3 separate regions of the Homo sapiens genome follow, and all the other regions are linked to region 3. The links are contacts of gene promoters, found by promoter capture Hi-C in blood cells and fetal thymus (Javierre and others, 2016). All regions are on one chromosome and are shown on one strand. Each heading gives the region's core, a stretch centred on a gene start or on the middle of the fragment in contact. The rest is flanking DNA. Distances are from core to core; before and after follow the strand shown.

Region 1 (3,773 bases), core at 239-2,738, 180 kb after region 3:
CTTTTAATACAAACACACAGGCACACATACACACACATCTTGGATGTTACATTTGCATTAAGCTAATCCATTGAGCTCCTTGAAAAAAAAAACTTTTTAAATCTCATTACCATATTTTAGCAAAGACAAATTGCCAATATTTCGGAAGTAATAAGTATCAAATCTGAAAGGGTTTGATTTAGAAACCAAACCCAGGCTATTGTGGTAAAGAAGAAAAAAAACAGATGTCAGAACCTTAGCTATGAAACTACAATGTGGGGCAACAGCTATTGCTCTTTCAGTTTGACTTGGCTAGCAAAAAGATGGCCTTGTTATGTAAATAAAACCCCTTAAGTAATCAAAATAAAACATTTCCCCCCCCCTTTTTTTGTGGAAATTTAGCCACATCAGAGGCTTTGTTCCCCTTGAATTGGAACTTTCCTTCAGATTTCGTCAAGTCAGATAGAGCTGGTCAAATGCAATGGGAAAAAGACTGAAACAATAAAAACAGAAACAAACAAACAACAACAAAAACAGTTAAGCAAAACAAATGATCACACAATTTATATAATTACTGAGCACTCTAATGGTAAGGAGAAATTAAGACCAGCTGGTTGTTCATCTTAACTTTAGCCAAGACAAAACCCCAATTCAGCTACTTACCTGAGGATGGGTCTCAGGCTGAAGACTGCTCTCTACCATCCTAGAAGCAGGAAAAAACTCAAATTCACCTTCCTTCCCTGTTGGAAATGAGCTCGAATTCCAGAAAGAAGTTACCTGCCTTCCATTGTCGTGGAAGCAGGAAAGCTTGCCTTCCTTGTTGGAAGGAAGTAAAGCTTCTTCCAACAAGAGTTGGAAATAAAAATTATTTTTCCTAGCAAAATAATCTTTAAATATTGACCAGATTTTGGGAGATCAGGGATTCTCTGGAGGGGGAGCTTCCAGGCCTCAGCAAATTGTCCTACTGGTTTGAGCCATAAAGAAACTCAAGCTGGTACCAAGCCCTAATAGGAGATTTCTCAAAGGTCAGCAGCTCTTCCACTCAGAATCCCTTCGTGGTTAGCAAAATGTGAACCCCAAATATATGAGATGGGTCTCAGTCAATTTATAGTGTTTATTTTGCCAATGTTAAGGATATGCCCATGACATAGCCTCAGGAAATCCTGAGACATGTACCCAAGGTGATCAGTGGTACAGTTTGCTTTTATACGTTTTAGGGAGACATGAGACATCATTCCATATGTGTGAGATGTACACTAGTTCAGTCCGGTAATATGGGACAACTTGAAGTGGGAGCTTCCAGATTAGAAGTAGATAAGAGACAAATGATTGTAATCTTTTGAGTCCTTGATCAGCCTCCATTGAATACACAATTTACTCCAGCTCAGTGAATCTGCATTTTTACATAAATGATTAGCAGAGGAAGCAATGACACATGCATTTGTCTCAGGTAAGCCTCAGAGGGATGACTGAATAGAATGGGAAGCAGGTTTACCTTAAACAGTTCCCAGCTTGATTTTCTTCTTTAGCTTGGTGATTTTGGAGTCTCAAGATTTATTTTCCTTTCACAGTACTCTCAGTCAGATTTCAAAAAAGATAATTTCCACACACTTGTTTTTTTATTTTTTTTATTTTTTTTATTTTTTTGAGACAGGGTCTCACTCTGTCACCCAGGCTGAACTGAAGTGGTGCAATCACAGCTCACTGCAGCCTTGGATTCTTGAGTTCAAGTGATCCTTCCACCTCAGCCTCCCAAACATCTGGAACTACAGGCAGTTGCAGATTTTAGTTGTTCTTAGAAGAAAGATTGCGTGAATGCACCATATCAGAAACCTAACTCCGTTTCCCCTGTAACCTAAATTTCAGCTCCCTTGGTATCAACACATCTTCAATGCTTCTGTCACCATTTTCTTTAATCCTATGAGAGAATAGCTCAATATTACATCCCTTGTACTAGGTGAAGTTCCCTCAATGTTTCCATACATTTTGGGGGTGGAAGGGCTTATGGTTCTACGTTTCTTTGTTTGTTTGTTTGTTTGTTTTGTCTTTACTACAGTCTGCATCTCTCTCCCACAAGCCCAGCCATTGTTCTCACATGGCTCTAGCCATGAAAGATAGCATCTCCATATTTCATCCCCAAAAGGGTCACAAATTCAAAGCTGTGGGTGCAGTTGCTTTTAACAAAGCTTTGAGGTGAAAGAAGAGGGTCCTGAAGCATAGTAAACAGAGATCAATGTAGTTTACCAGTAGATCCGAATGGATTTAAAGTTCTTTAACTCCTTTCTTCCATGTAGAATTTCTCAGTTGACAGCTTATCTTTCTTCCCTGCCATTTTCCTCACTACTACTCTCTTCTCTCGCCTTCCCTGCCACCTCCATCATCTCTCATTTCTTCCCCATCCCCACAGGTAGCCAAGTTGTTGGGACTCTCCTATTGCTTCCCACAGCTCTGGGGTTGCATGTTTTCTCCTCTTTGAAAGTTGGCAGTCCCCAAATCTCCAAAATCCTGTTCATTTCTAATGAAGAACTGTTTAAATCTCACTCCAGTTATTATTTTAAACTAAGCGCAGATCCAAATTCATTAGAAAATAATATTCAGAAAATGGCAAAATCATGACTCATATAAATGAAACATATGTTAAAGATTTTATTTAACTCATATAAAGGAACTAGTTCAAAGTAAATGTCAAAAAGCACAAACATATAGAGTCAAGAAATCGAATTACAAATGGAGGGAAAAAGACTTTTTCCACAGTGGGGAGGGAAGCCAATGGAAATGCTGCTGGATAAGACACAGTTTGCATATCCATCAGTTACCTGCATTTGAAAAACAGGTGCAAAATAGCTCAAAGACAATGAACAGGCTCTGGAACCCACTGCCCAGAAGCATGTATGATAGACAATGCATAGTTTTTAAATCAAATGCAAAAATGTTTTTTGCACATAACATATCCAAAAATTCTTCAGGGACAAGAACGAAAGGTTATCAAGTCTTCAGGGCCGCCTTTTCTTTGTCAAAGCATTAACCACTGCTCTTAAATTATACTTTTGCCTTCATTAACTAGGAGGCAGTATCTGAGCATCAAAGGATAGCAGTTGATGCTTTTAGACTACTTTTTTCCAATGAAGGCCCAAAGGTGTCATTTGTTCTTCCCTGTCTCATCTGAATTGTATAAAATATGCCAGCTGTTGCTTCCCATGGTCACCTGAGGTAGAAGTGGCTGTCACCTCTGCTGACATCCTTAGCTATAGTGTCTTTCATCCTCTGTGACTCATCTCAACCCATTAAATGTAGGAACAGATGATATTAATAGCCAAGGGTTAAGACATTTAATTTCTTCCCTATTAAGGAAATGCTTCAGCATTTAAAGTAATAATAATGGGATTGCAGAATATCAGAGCCATAAGGTGCCTTTGAAATTATCTAGTTCAATATTGTACTTTCCAAATGAGGACACAGAGGTCCCAGAGGGGAAGTGGCCTGTCAACCAAAGTCACACTGAAGGCTGGTGGCACAACAGAAGCTGCAGCTCAGGAATGCCACGCTGACCTGCCATTTATTTTGCCTTTTGGCAGCTCTTTCTTCATCGGACACCTATTTCTTTTGTTATGCTCTGGCAAGTCTTTCCTGTCCCTCTTTGCAGATATTTATTTTTTTCTACTCCTAATGTTCCCAGTGCTTAATTTTTTATGGATTTGTGTGCCAATTTCTAGTTATATAAGGAACTGATCACGAATGAAGCTCTTTATACTACCAGCAATTATTCTATTTTGGATATAAGACTCTGTAAAATC
Region 2 (3,714 bases), core at 605-3,104, 190 kb after region 3:
TCCTGGCCTCAAGCAGTCCTCCTGCCTCAGCCTCCCAAAGAGCTGGGATTATAGGCGTGAGCCACTGCACACAGCTTCCTTCATTTCTGTAAGTGTCAGTGAAAAAAGAATGTTTGTGAGTTAAGGAGTAGCAGTAGGGACTCGGAAGAGACTCTCATTTAGGACAGTTTTGACAATATAAGTGTTGCCAGTTTGCTTCCTAATGTTTGCATGGAGAATGGAACACTGGGTTCAGGTATTAAACTACTGTAGCACTATAGGGAGGATCAGAGACCACCATCGCAGGCCTGAGCAACATGGTACAAATCACGGATCTTGGAAACTGCGTTGGTGATAATAATTATGCATAATTATGAGTGTATTCTGCTTTAAAGTTTTTCAAAAAGTGAATTACCAGAATCTTTCAGACATTGTGTAACTTTTTGCTAAAGTTCAAAAACTTATACTGTTTTTATGGCAATTTTTGATTGATACTTGTTTTCTAATCTTGGGAGAAAAATGGAAAATAAAGGAAAGTTCTAAAAGGAAAATAAAATCCTCCATAATTTTACCACTCATAGTTAATCTCTGGTAATATTATGATGTCTTTCTTTCTATGCAAGGGTGTGTGTATGTATGTATAGTACAAAATTGCCACATTTTGAATGATATATTTCATATTTGTATTTATACATATGTAAACGCCTTTACTTCCTCCTATTTTTTCCCTAAAATTGTACCATGAGCATCCTTCACATTCTAAGAAAACATTATTCTTAATGGCTATGTAATATTTCATTATATCATTTATATCACAATTTAGATGACCAATATTCTGTTGCTGAACATTTAAATGTTTCCATTTGTTCAGTGTTATAAATTATAGAAAGAATCAGAATCAGCACTTTCTAAAGCCTCCACTCTTTTTAAATGGGAAAACAATCTAATTTAAAACTTTGTGAAAATGGAAATGTTTTATTTCGCACCGTCCTATAGAGTAGCCACTGCCCTCATGTGACTATTGAGTTCTTGATATGTGGCTGGTGCAACTGAGGAATTAATTCTTTTTATTTTACCTTAGTTTAATAAATTTAAATTTAAATAGCCATATGTGGCTAGTGACTACTTTATTTGTTAAACTTGTGAGGTTAAGGTCACTTTAAGGATCTGCTTGTACGCAGGAATACCGCCATCTTGTGGCCTGTTAGAATATGGCCTCGAAAATTGAAACCAAAGTGCATTTACACCTGCAAGCACCCTGGAAGTGGTAAATCCATGATATTCGTGGATCATAAAAGCTCAATTCGTAGCTTATATAAAGTATCTGCAAGCTTAAAGATTGCAGTTGCTAAAACACACCATGGAACAGGGCAAATGAATTTGCAGAGGAGAAACAGTGAGTGCCTGGGCTAACTCTGAGAATAAGTGTGTCTTTGCCATTTGGGATAGAGACATCCTTTTGGTGACCCTTTCGTGAACAGCAAGAATCTCTAGGACCTTTTGGCACCTGAAATTCATCCTTTCTTCCTTTGTTCTGCTATTCGAAAGCGCTCTTTGCTTTAAAGTGCTACAGATACTCGTATCCTCCTAGGAGTTTTCCTATTCATCTTCACATATGTCTATTGATATTGCCTGCTCTGCAGATTCACTCTGCATTTTTGTTAGAGTTTTGTTGTAAATTCTAGTATATTTTGCACTTTCTTTGACTGATTCAACTCTTAATCAGCGCTTCCCCCAAATCTAACCCACAATTCTCAAAATTGGCCGTATATATATGTATGTGTGTGTGTGTATATATATATGTGTGTGTGTGTGTATATATATGTAAATGTATATTGAATAGATGAGTTCTGAGTGATTCAAAGGGTGGGAAAATTAAGATCTCTTATTCCAACTAAGTTTGGAACTAATTAAGAGATTGCTAATGGTGGAAGGCAGATGAAGACAAAAACATCCACTTTATTACTGGCAGAACTGTTTACAAGTGTGGCTTTGTGGTGCAGGAATGATAGAAATTCTAACACTGAATCCCAGAAGTAGACTTTCTACCACCTCAACGAGCAGCTCCAGGAAGCCTCAGGCCTCCTCTGGGGTGGGTCCCTGTAAGAATTACAGGCCACAGAGACAGGCCACAGGAGTGCATGTTGTGGGCAGGTGGCCCAAGTGAGAAGGGCCAGATGGAGGAGGCAAGGAGGGCGATACAAGATTGTTTAGAGTAAGCAGATGGGCATTGTACATTCTCTACATGACAAGGTATTCTACTTTGGTAGAAAACCTTAAAGGTTGGCCAGATTGTCTAGGGAAAAATCTCTCCTCATAGAAACTGGGAAATTGAAAAAAAGTATCCACCCTCATAGAAATCAATAAGTTATATTCTAGCATGACCTTAGCCAAATTTTTAACTGTTTCACCAAATAATTAAAGCTTCACCTGAGAGCTGTAGGAAAGATAAACAGGTATGTATTTATCTTTGTACAACTCTGCACACATTGTTAATCTTTCTCAATCGGAAGGGATCATAGATTAGGTGATAATAATAAATACTGAGAAATAAACAAGCAATAAACATTGAGATTGAACTCATGTTTCTCAAAATGCTGCTTCAGTGTGTTGGGAGACTTTGTTAACTCAGCAGTGACTTCTAGTGCAAAAACATTATCTTATAAAATTTCTAGAAAGCAAGTCAATTACGAAATAAAGGAACAAATTCAATAATTTTATTACAGCAATAATAATAAGCTAAAAAAAATCTCAAATTTGTTTTGTTTTTGTTGTTGTTTTGACACAAGGTGTTGCTGTGTTGCCCAGGCTGGAATGCAGTGGCACAAACACTGCTCACTGCTGCAGCCTCAAGCTCCTGGGCTCTGGCGATCTTCCTGCCTCAGCCAAGTAGCTGGAACTACAGACCTGTACCTCCATGCCTTCCTAAATTATTTTTGTTTTGTTTTGCAGAGATGGAGCCTTGCTATGTTTCCCAGACTTGTCTCAAACTTCTGGCCTCAATCCTCCCTCCTCGACTTCCCAAAGTCCTGGGATTACAGGCATGAGCCACTGCAGCTGGCAAAAATATAAATTTCTAACTGTAGGAATTCACTCTAAGGGTATACTTGCAGTTGTACTTAACAGTTTATTATGGTGATATTTATCACAGAAATGTTTATAATCATCCTCATAAAATGATAGCCTTAGGAGATCTTTTTAATGTGCTAGCTTGGCAAATTTTTTTTTTTTAAAAAACTGACAAGTCTGTATTGTCTCCAGTAGCAAAGACTCACTAGCCCATGAAACAATAAGTCTAAGAATAAATTTATTAGATCTATTAATATATCCCTCTAAGACTTGGTATTAGAGATAAAAGTTTGTATCTATATGGCTTATAGGCAACCCAGTCACAGATAATCTTCTCTAGTGAGAAAAGGTGCCAGGAAATTCACTTTGATTTGAGTCATTGAATGTGAGAACCTCTCTACCACCAGCCCAGGAGGGTACCTGAGGACACTTGTGGTCATGGAAGATAACGGCTCTCAGAAGTGTAGAGGGTATAGGCTGTGTGGCTATATAGTACTACTACTCAAAGAAAGGATTTAATGAGGCCTTTTCTGTGTCCAGAGATTAAATGAAAAAGCTGCCCAGCCCCTGGCATGGATCTCTGGGAAGAGATGGAAATGGTGCCCCATTCCAGGAGAGAGTTCTCAGAACTGGCTGTGTTCAGAGAGCCCCGTAATTGGGAGTCAA
Region 3 (3,601 bases), core at 1,102-3,601:
GGTACATTTGTATATTTCTGATTTTTTAAGGAAGTCTTGTCAGTAGTTTACTTTTGAGTCTCTATAGATTTCTTTACTGTGTTAAAGCTATTCCTGTCTAACTCTGGTTTTTAAGACTTTTTATCAGTTACTAATAGGTTTTGAATTTCACTTAACAATTTTGTTCTTTTAAAATGACTATATATTTTTTTCCCTTTTAACTTCTGAACTTGGAAATTGCATTAATAGTTCATCATAATAAACTATCATTACATTTCCAAGATTAACTCTTCTTTCTCTTCATTTATTATATAAAACAATGAATTCAATTTGTTTTGTGTTTTGTTCAGGAACTTTGCATCTGTGTTCTTGAGTCAGATTGTCCTTCAAATTTCTTTCTCACGATGGCCCTGAATTTTTCTTTTTCTCAAAATTTTCCACCAATATTTTAGATAAAAACCCAAAGACAATAGTGTTATGAATCATTATGTACCTACCACCAAGCAACAACTCTCATGACCTCAAGTCCTCTCTTGTTTTATCTGTCTCTCTCTTTCTTTATCTCTATCATGCTTGATTATTTTGAAGTAAATTCTGAATAACCATTTCATCTGTAAATATTGTGTTATGTATCTTAAATGATAAGGATACTTTAAATAATATTATTTCAATATTATAATTACATCTGAACATGATATAGTCCTTTAACATTATCAAATGCTCACTTTTACCCAATTGTTTTATAATTATATTTTTTATTTAATTTGTTCAAATCAAGATCCAAACATGGTTCACACATTTTATTTGATTGATATATTTTTCACATGTTAAGAGTGAGATGTTGTTTTATTTCCTTAAATTCACTTGCTGGGGAAATGTACTTATTTGTCCTGTAGAATTTCCCACCTTCTAAATTTTGCTGATGGTATTCCTGTGTTGTAATATAATACCATCCCCATGTCCTATATTTTCTGGAAATTGCCAGCTAGATGTTAACCAGAGATCTCAAACTGTTTTGATCTCAGGACCCTTTAACACTCTTAAAAAATATTGAGGACACTCGAAAAAAAATTTTGTTCATGTGAGCTATTGATATTTATAATAATATATAGTAAAAGAGAAAAGTTAAAAATATTCATTTACTAACTCACTTTGAACTTTTTTGAAAACATGTTAACAAAAGACCCATATGTCAGTAAGTGAAGTTTGTCTTGGTTTATTTTTCAAGTAAAAATGGTGTTCCATGAAATAGTGAACTAAAACTCAGTGTTACAAATTATTTCCCTCAAGACAACCATTATACTTTAGCATGTCAGCTTCCCATTTAGTCATACAGAATATTCCCTCTAGATGTATTCAAGGGTTGAGATTTACTGAAGCCAATTCACTACCCTGATTCATCAAGTTCAAGGGCATTTTCAAGTAAAAATGGCTTTATTTTGTTTCTTGCAAGTGCGTGGATATGAGCAATGCAATTTGGTGCCACTGCCTTGATTGATGTTAAGGCACCAGAACTTCTATCCACCATTTATTTTGCCTCATCAGTGCAAATGTCAACATAGCGAAAATGACGAATAACACTTTAGTATAATTATGAAAATTATAACTGCACAACCACTCCAAACAGGCCCTGAAGACCCCCATTGGTGTGTAGATCACAATCTAAGAACGCTACTCTGAGATATCAAACTGTCAGCGCAGAACTACAATAAACCAAGGAACTATCTCTTGGTCTTCTCACACAAAGGTAGCTGGAAGGCAAATCTATTTAACTGCTGTTCCATAAGACCCTGGCTTGCCTAATGACTCACAAGATTATTTCAAGCTTCTTTTACATCTTGCTGTGAAGTTGAAGTAGCAACACTGAACCAGTGCTGCTGCTTCTGGTTTCTATTGTTTCTTTATTTCGACTAATACATTGTCTTTGCCAACACATCTAATTTTAATGCCCACCCAATTTTTATTTATTAATTTATTTTAAATGTTACTAGATAAGGTATAAAGGAATTCATATGTATGCCTATAGAAGTGAGCTCCTGGCACGTTGATCAAAAACAAACTTTTGACATTTCTCATAACTATGTAATATCATAATATTTTCTAAACTATATAATACCAGGCTCACAAGACTGCCTTTATTCCCTTAAGTTTCTCAGAAGAAGATATCTGGAAGAGGGTGGGAAAAGTGCAAACTTCAACTGTTTGTGGGGAAAGTGCCGGCCTGCTACAGAGAAAAAGGCAACATCTGTAACAATTCCCAGCCTTTGCCAGGAAGAGTCTCCTCCCCTTGGCATAATCTTTTTGAACCAATGCCAAGCCCTCTCCATGACCCCTGTCCCGCCTACATATTGCCGTTATTCACTCCAGTGACCATCCCTGAGATCTTTTTATAAAAAACCCAGTCTTTGCTGACCAGACAAAGCATACCAGATCTCACCAGAGAGGTAAGTGGGAGCTGAGAGAAGATGAGACCTGTGGAAGGGCAACCTCACATAATACAGGAGAACGCATGGGAGGGTCCCTTCCTCAGGGAGCACAGGAGCTCTGAGACTCAGCAAGGCTGTACTGGGAGGTCTCAGGGATGGGTGAGTACACAGATTCACAGCTCATTCAGAACTGTAGAAGATGATGAATGTGACCAAGATCACTTCAGTCCTAGGGGACTACAGAAGGAAAAAGACAAGAGGCAGTAGGATATCTGTGTGTCCTCCCGCTGACCACACTTCCTTTAGTGACCCGATTGCCTCCTCAAGTCGCAGACACTATGCTGCCTCCCATGGCCCTGCCCAGTGTGTCCTGGATGCTGCTTTCCTGCCTCATTCTCCTGTGTCAGGTTCAAGGTGAGATTTCTCTGCCTCTAGCACTGGGTTCCCTATGAATCCTCAGAGCCAAGAAAAGGAGGAAGGCTCCTGTGTGTCACGTGAGGTAATGACGTGGTGTCTAATGAAACTGCCTGCAGTTCCTGCATCATCACTCCTTCCTTCATGTTAACTTGCAGTGGGAGGCTCCACTGTGGTCCACTAACAATGGAATGAGATGGCTTCCATTTAGTCAGTGGACTCTAATATACACTGGTGGGAAAGTGTGGAGGGTCAGCAATGAGATGTGGGGAGGGACAATGATTGGAGGACCCAATATAGAGATAGCCCACAGTGAAGAGAGTGTTGAATGGTTGAATAAGGGGAAAGGGTAATAACAGACTAGATGGTGGCCCATTTAGTAGGGCTATTTTGAGATAAAGAACTTCTGAAAACACAAGGGAAGATGAAGAGCTGTCAGGAATGTGGTCTTCCTCCCCAAGGGCAGACCTAGATATTCCCCAAGGTCATCTCCCACCCACCCCCTACTCTTCATTTTACTCTCTCCCTTTTCTTCCACCCCAGGTGAAGAAACCCAGAAGGAACTGCCCTCTCCACGGATCAGCTGTCCCAAAGGCTCCAAGGCCTATGGCTCCCCCTGCTATGCCTTGTTTTTGTCACCAAAATCCTGGATGGATGCAGATGTGAGTGGTTAGATGTGGGGTTGGAGGTGATAGGGGAAAGTCCATGCAGGTCTCAGGGGGAGGAGGGTCTCCTTCAGGAGAGTTCCTTGGGAATGAGGATGAACACGCTTATCTTTCACA

Evidence for each region. The method cuts DNA at HindIII sites, captures the fragments that hold promoters and counts their contacts. A CHiCAGO score of 5 or more calls a contact.
Region 1: a contact is called between a fragment that was not itself captured here and the fragment with the promoter of REG3G in region 3, in 1 of 17 cell types (naive B cells). The highest score is 6.5, in naive B cells.
Region 2: a contact is called between a fragment that was not itself captured here and the fragment with the promoter of REG3G in region 3, in 1 of 17 cell types (naive B cells). The highest score is 8.0, in naive B cells.

Annotation. Positions count from the first base shown.
Region 1 is chr2:79,200,735-79,204,507 of GRCh38, forward strand. It overlaps a transcript of CTNNA2 not described here. Among named protein-coding and RNA genes, the nearest start is that of REG3A, 43 kb to the left of the region's middle. The HindIII fragment of the contact is 1,350 bases long and covers 814-2,163 here.
Region 2 is chr2:79,218,407-79,222,120 of GRCh38, forward strand. It overlaps a transcript of CTNNA2 not described here. Among named protein-coding and RNA genes, the nearest start is that of REG3A, 61 kb to the left of the region's middle. The HindIII fragment of the contact is 1,093 bases long and covers 1,309-2,401 here.
Region 3 is chr2:79,023,351-79,026,951 of GRCh38, forward strand. It overlaps REG3G (regenerating family member 3 gamma), which reads left to right and starts at 2,352. Exons shown (of 6, transcript NM_001008387.3): 1 at 2,352-2,423; 2 at 2,633-2,819; 3 at 3,363-3,481. The coding sequence starts at 2,744. The HindIII fragment of the contact is 2,965 bases long and covers 1,803-3,601 here.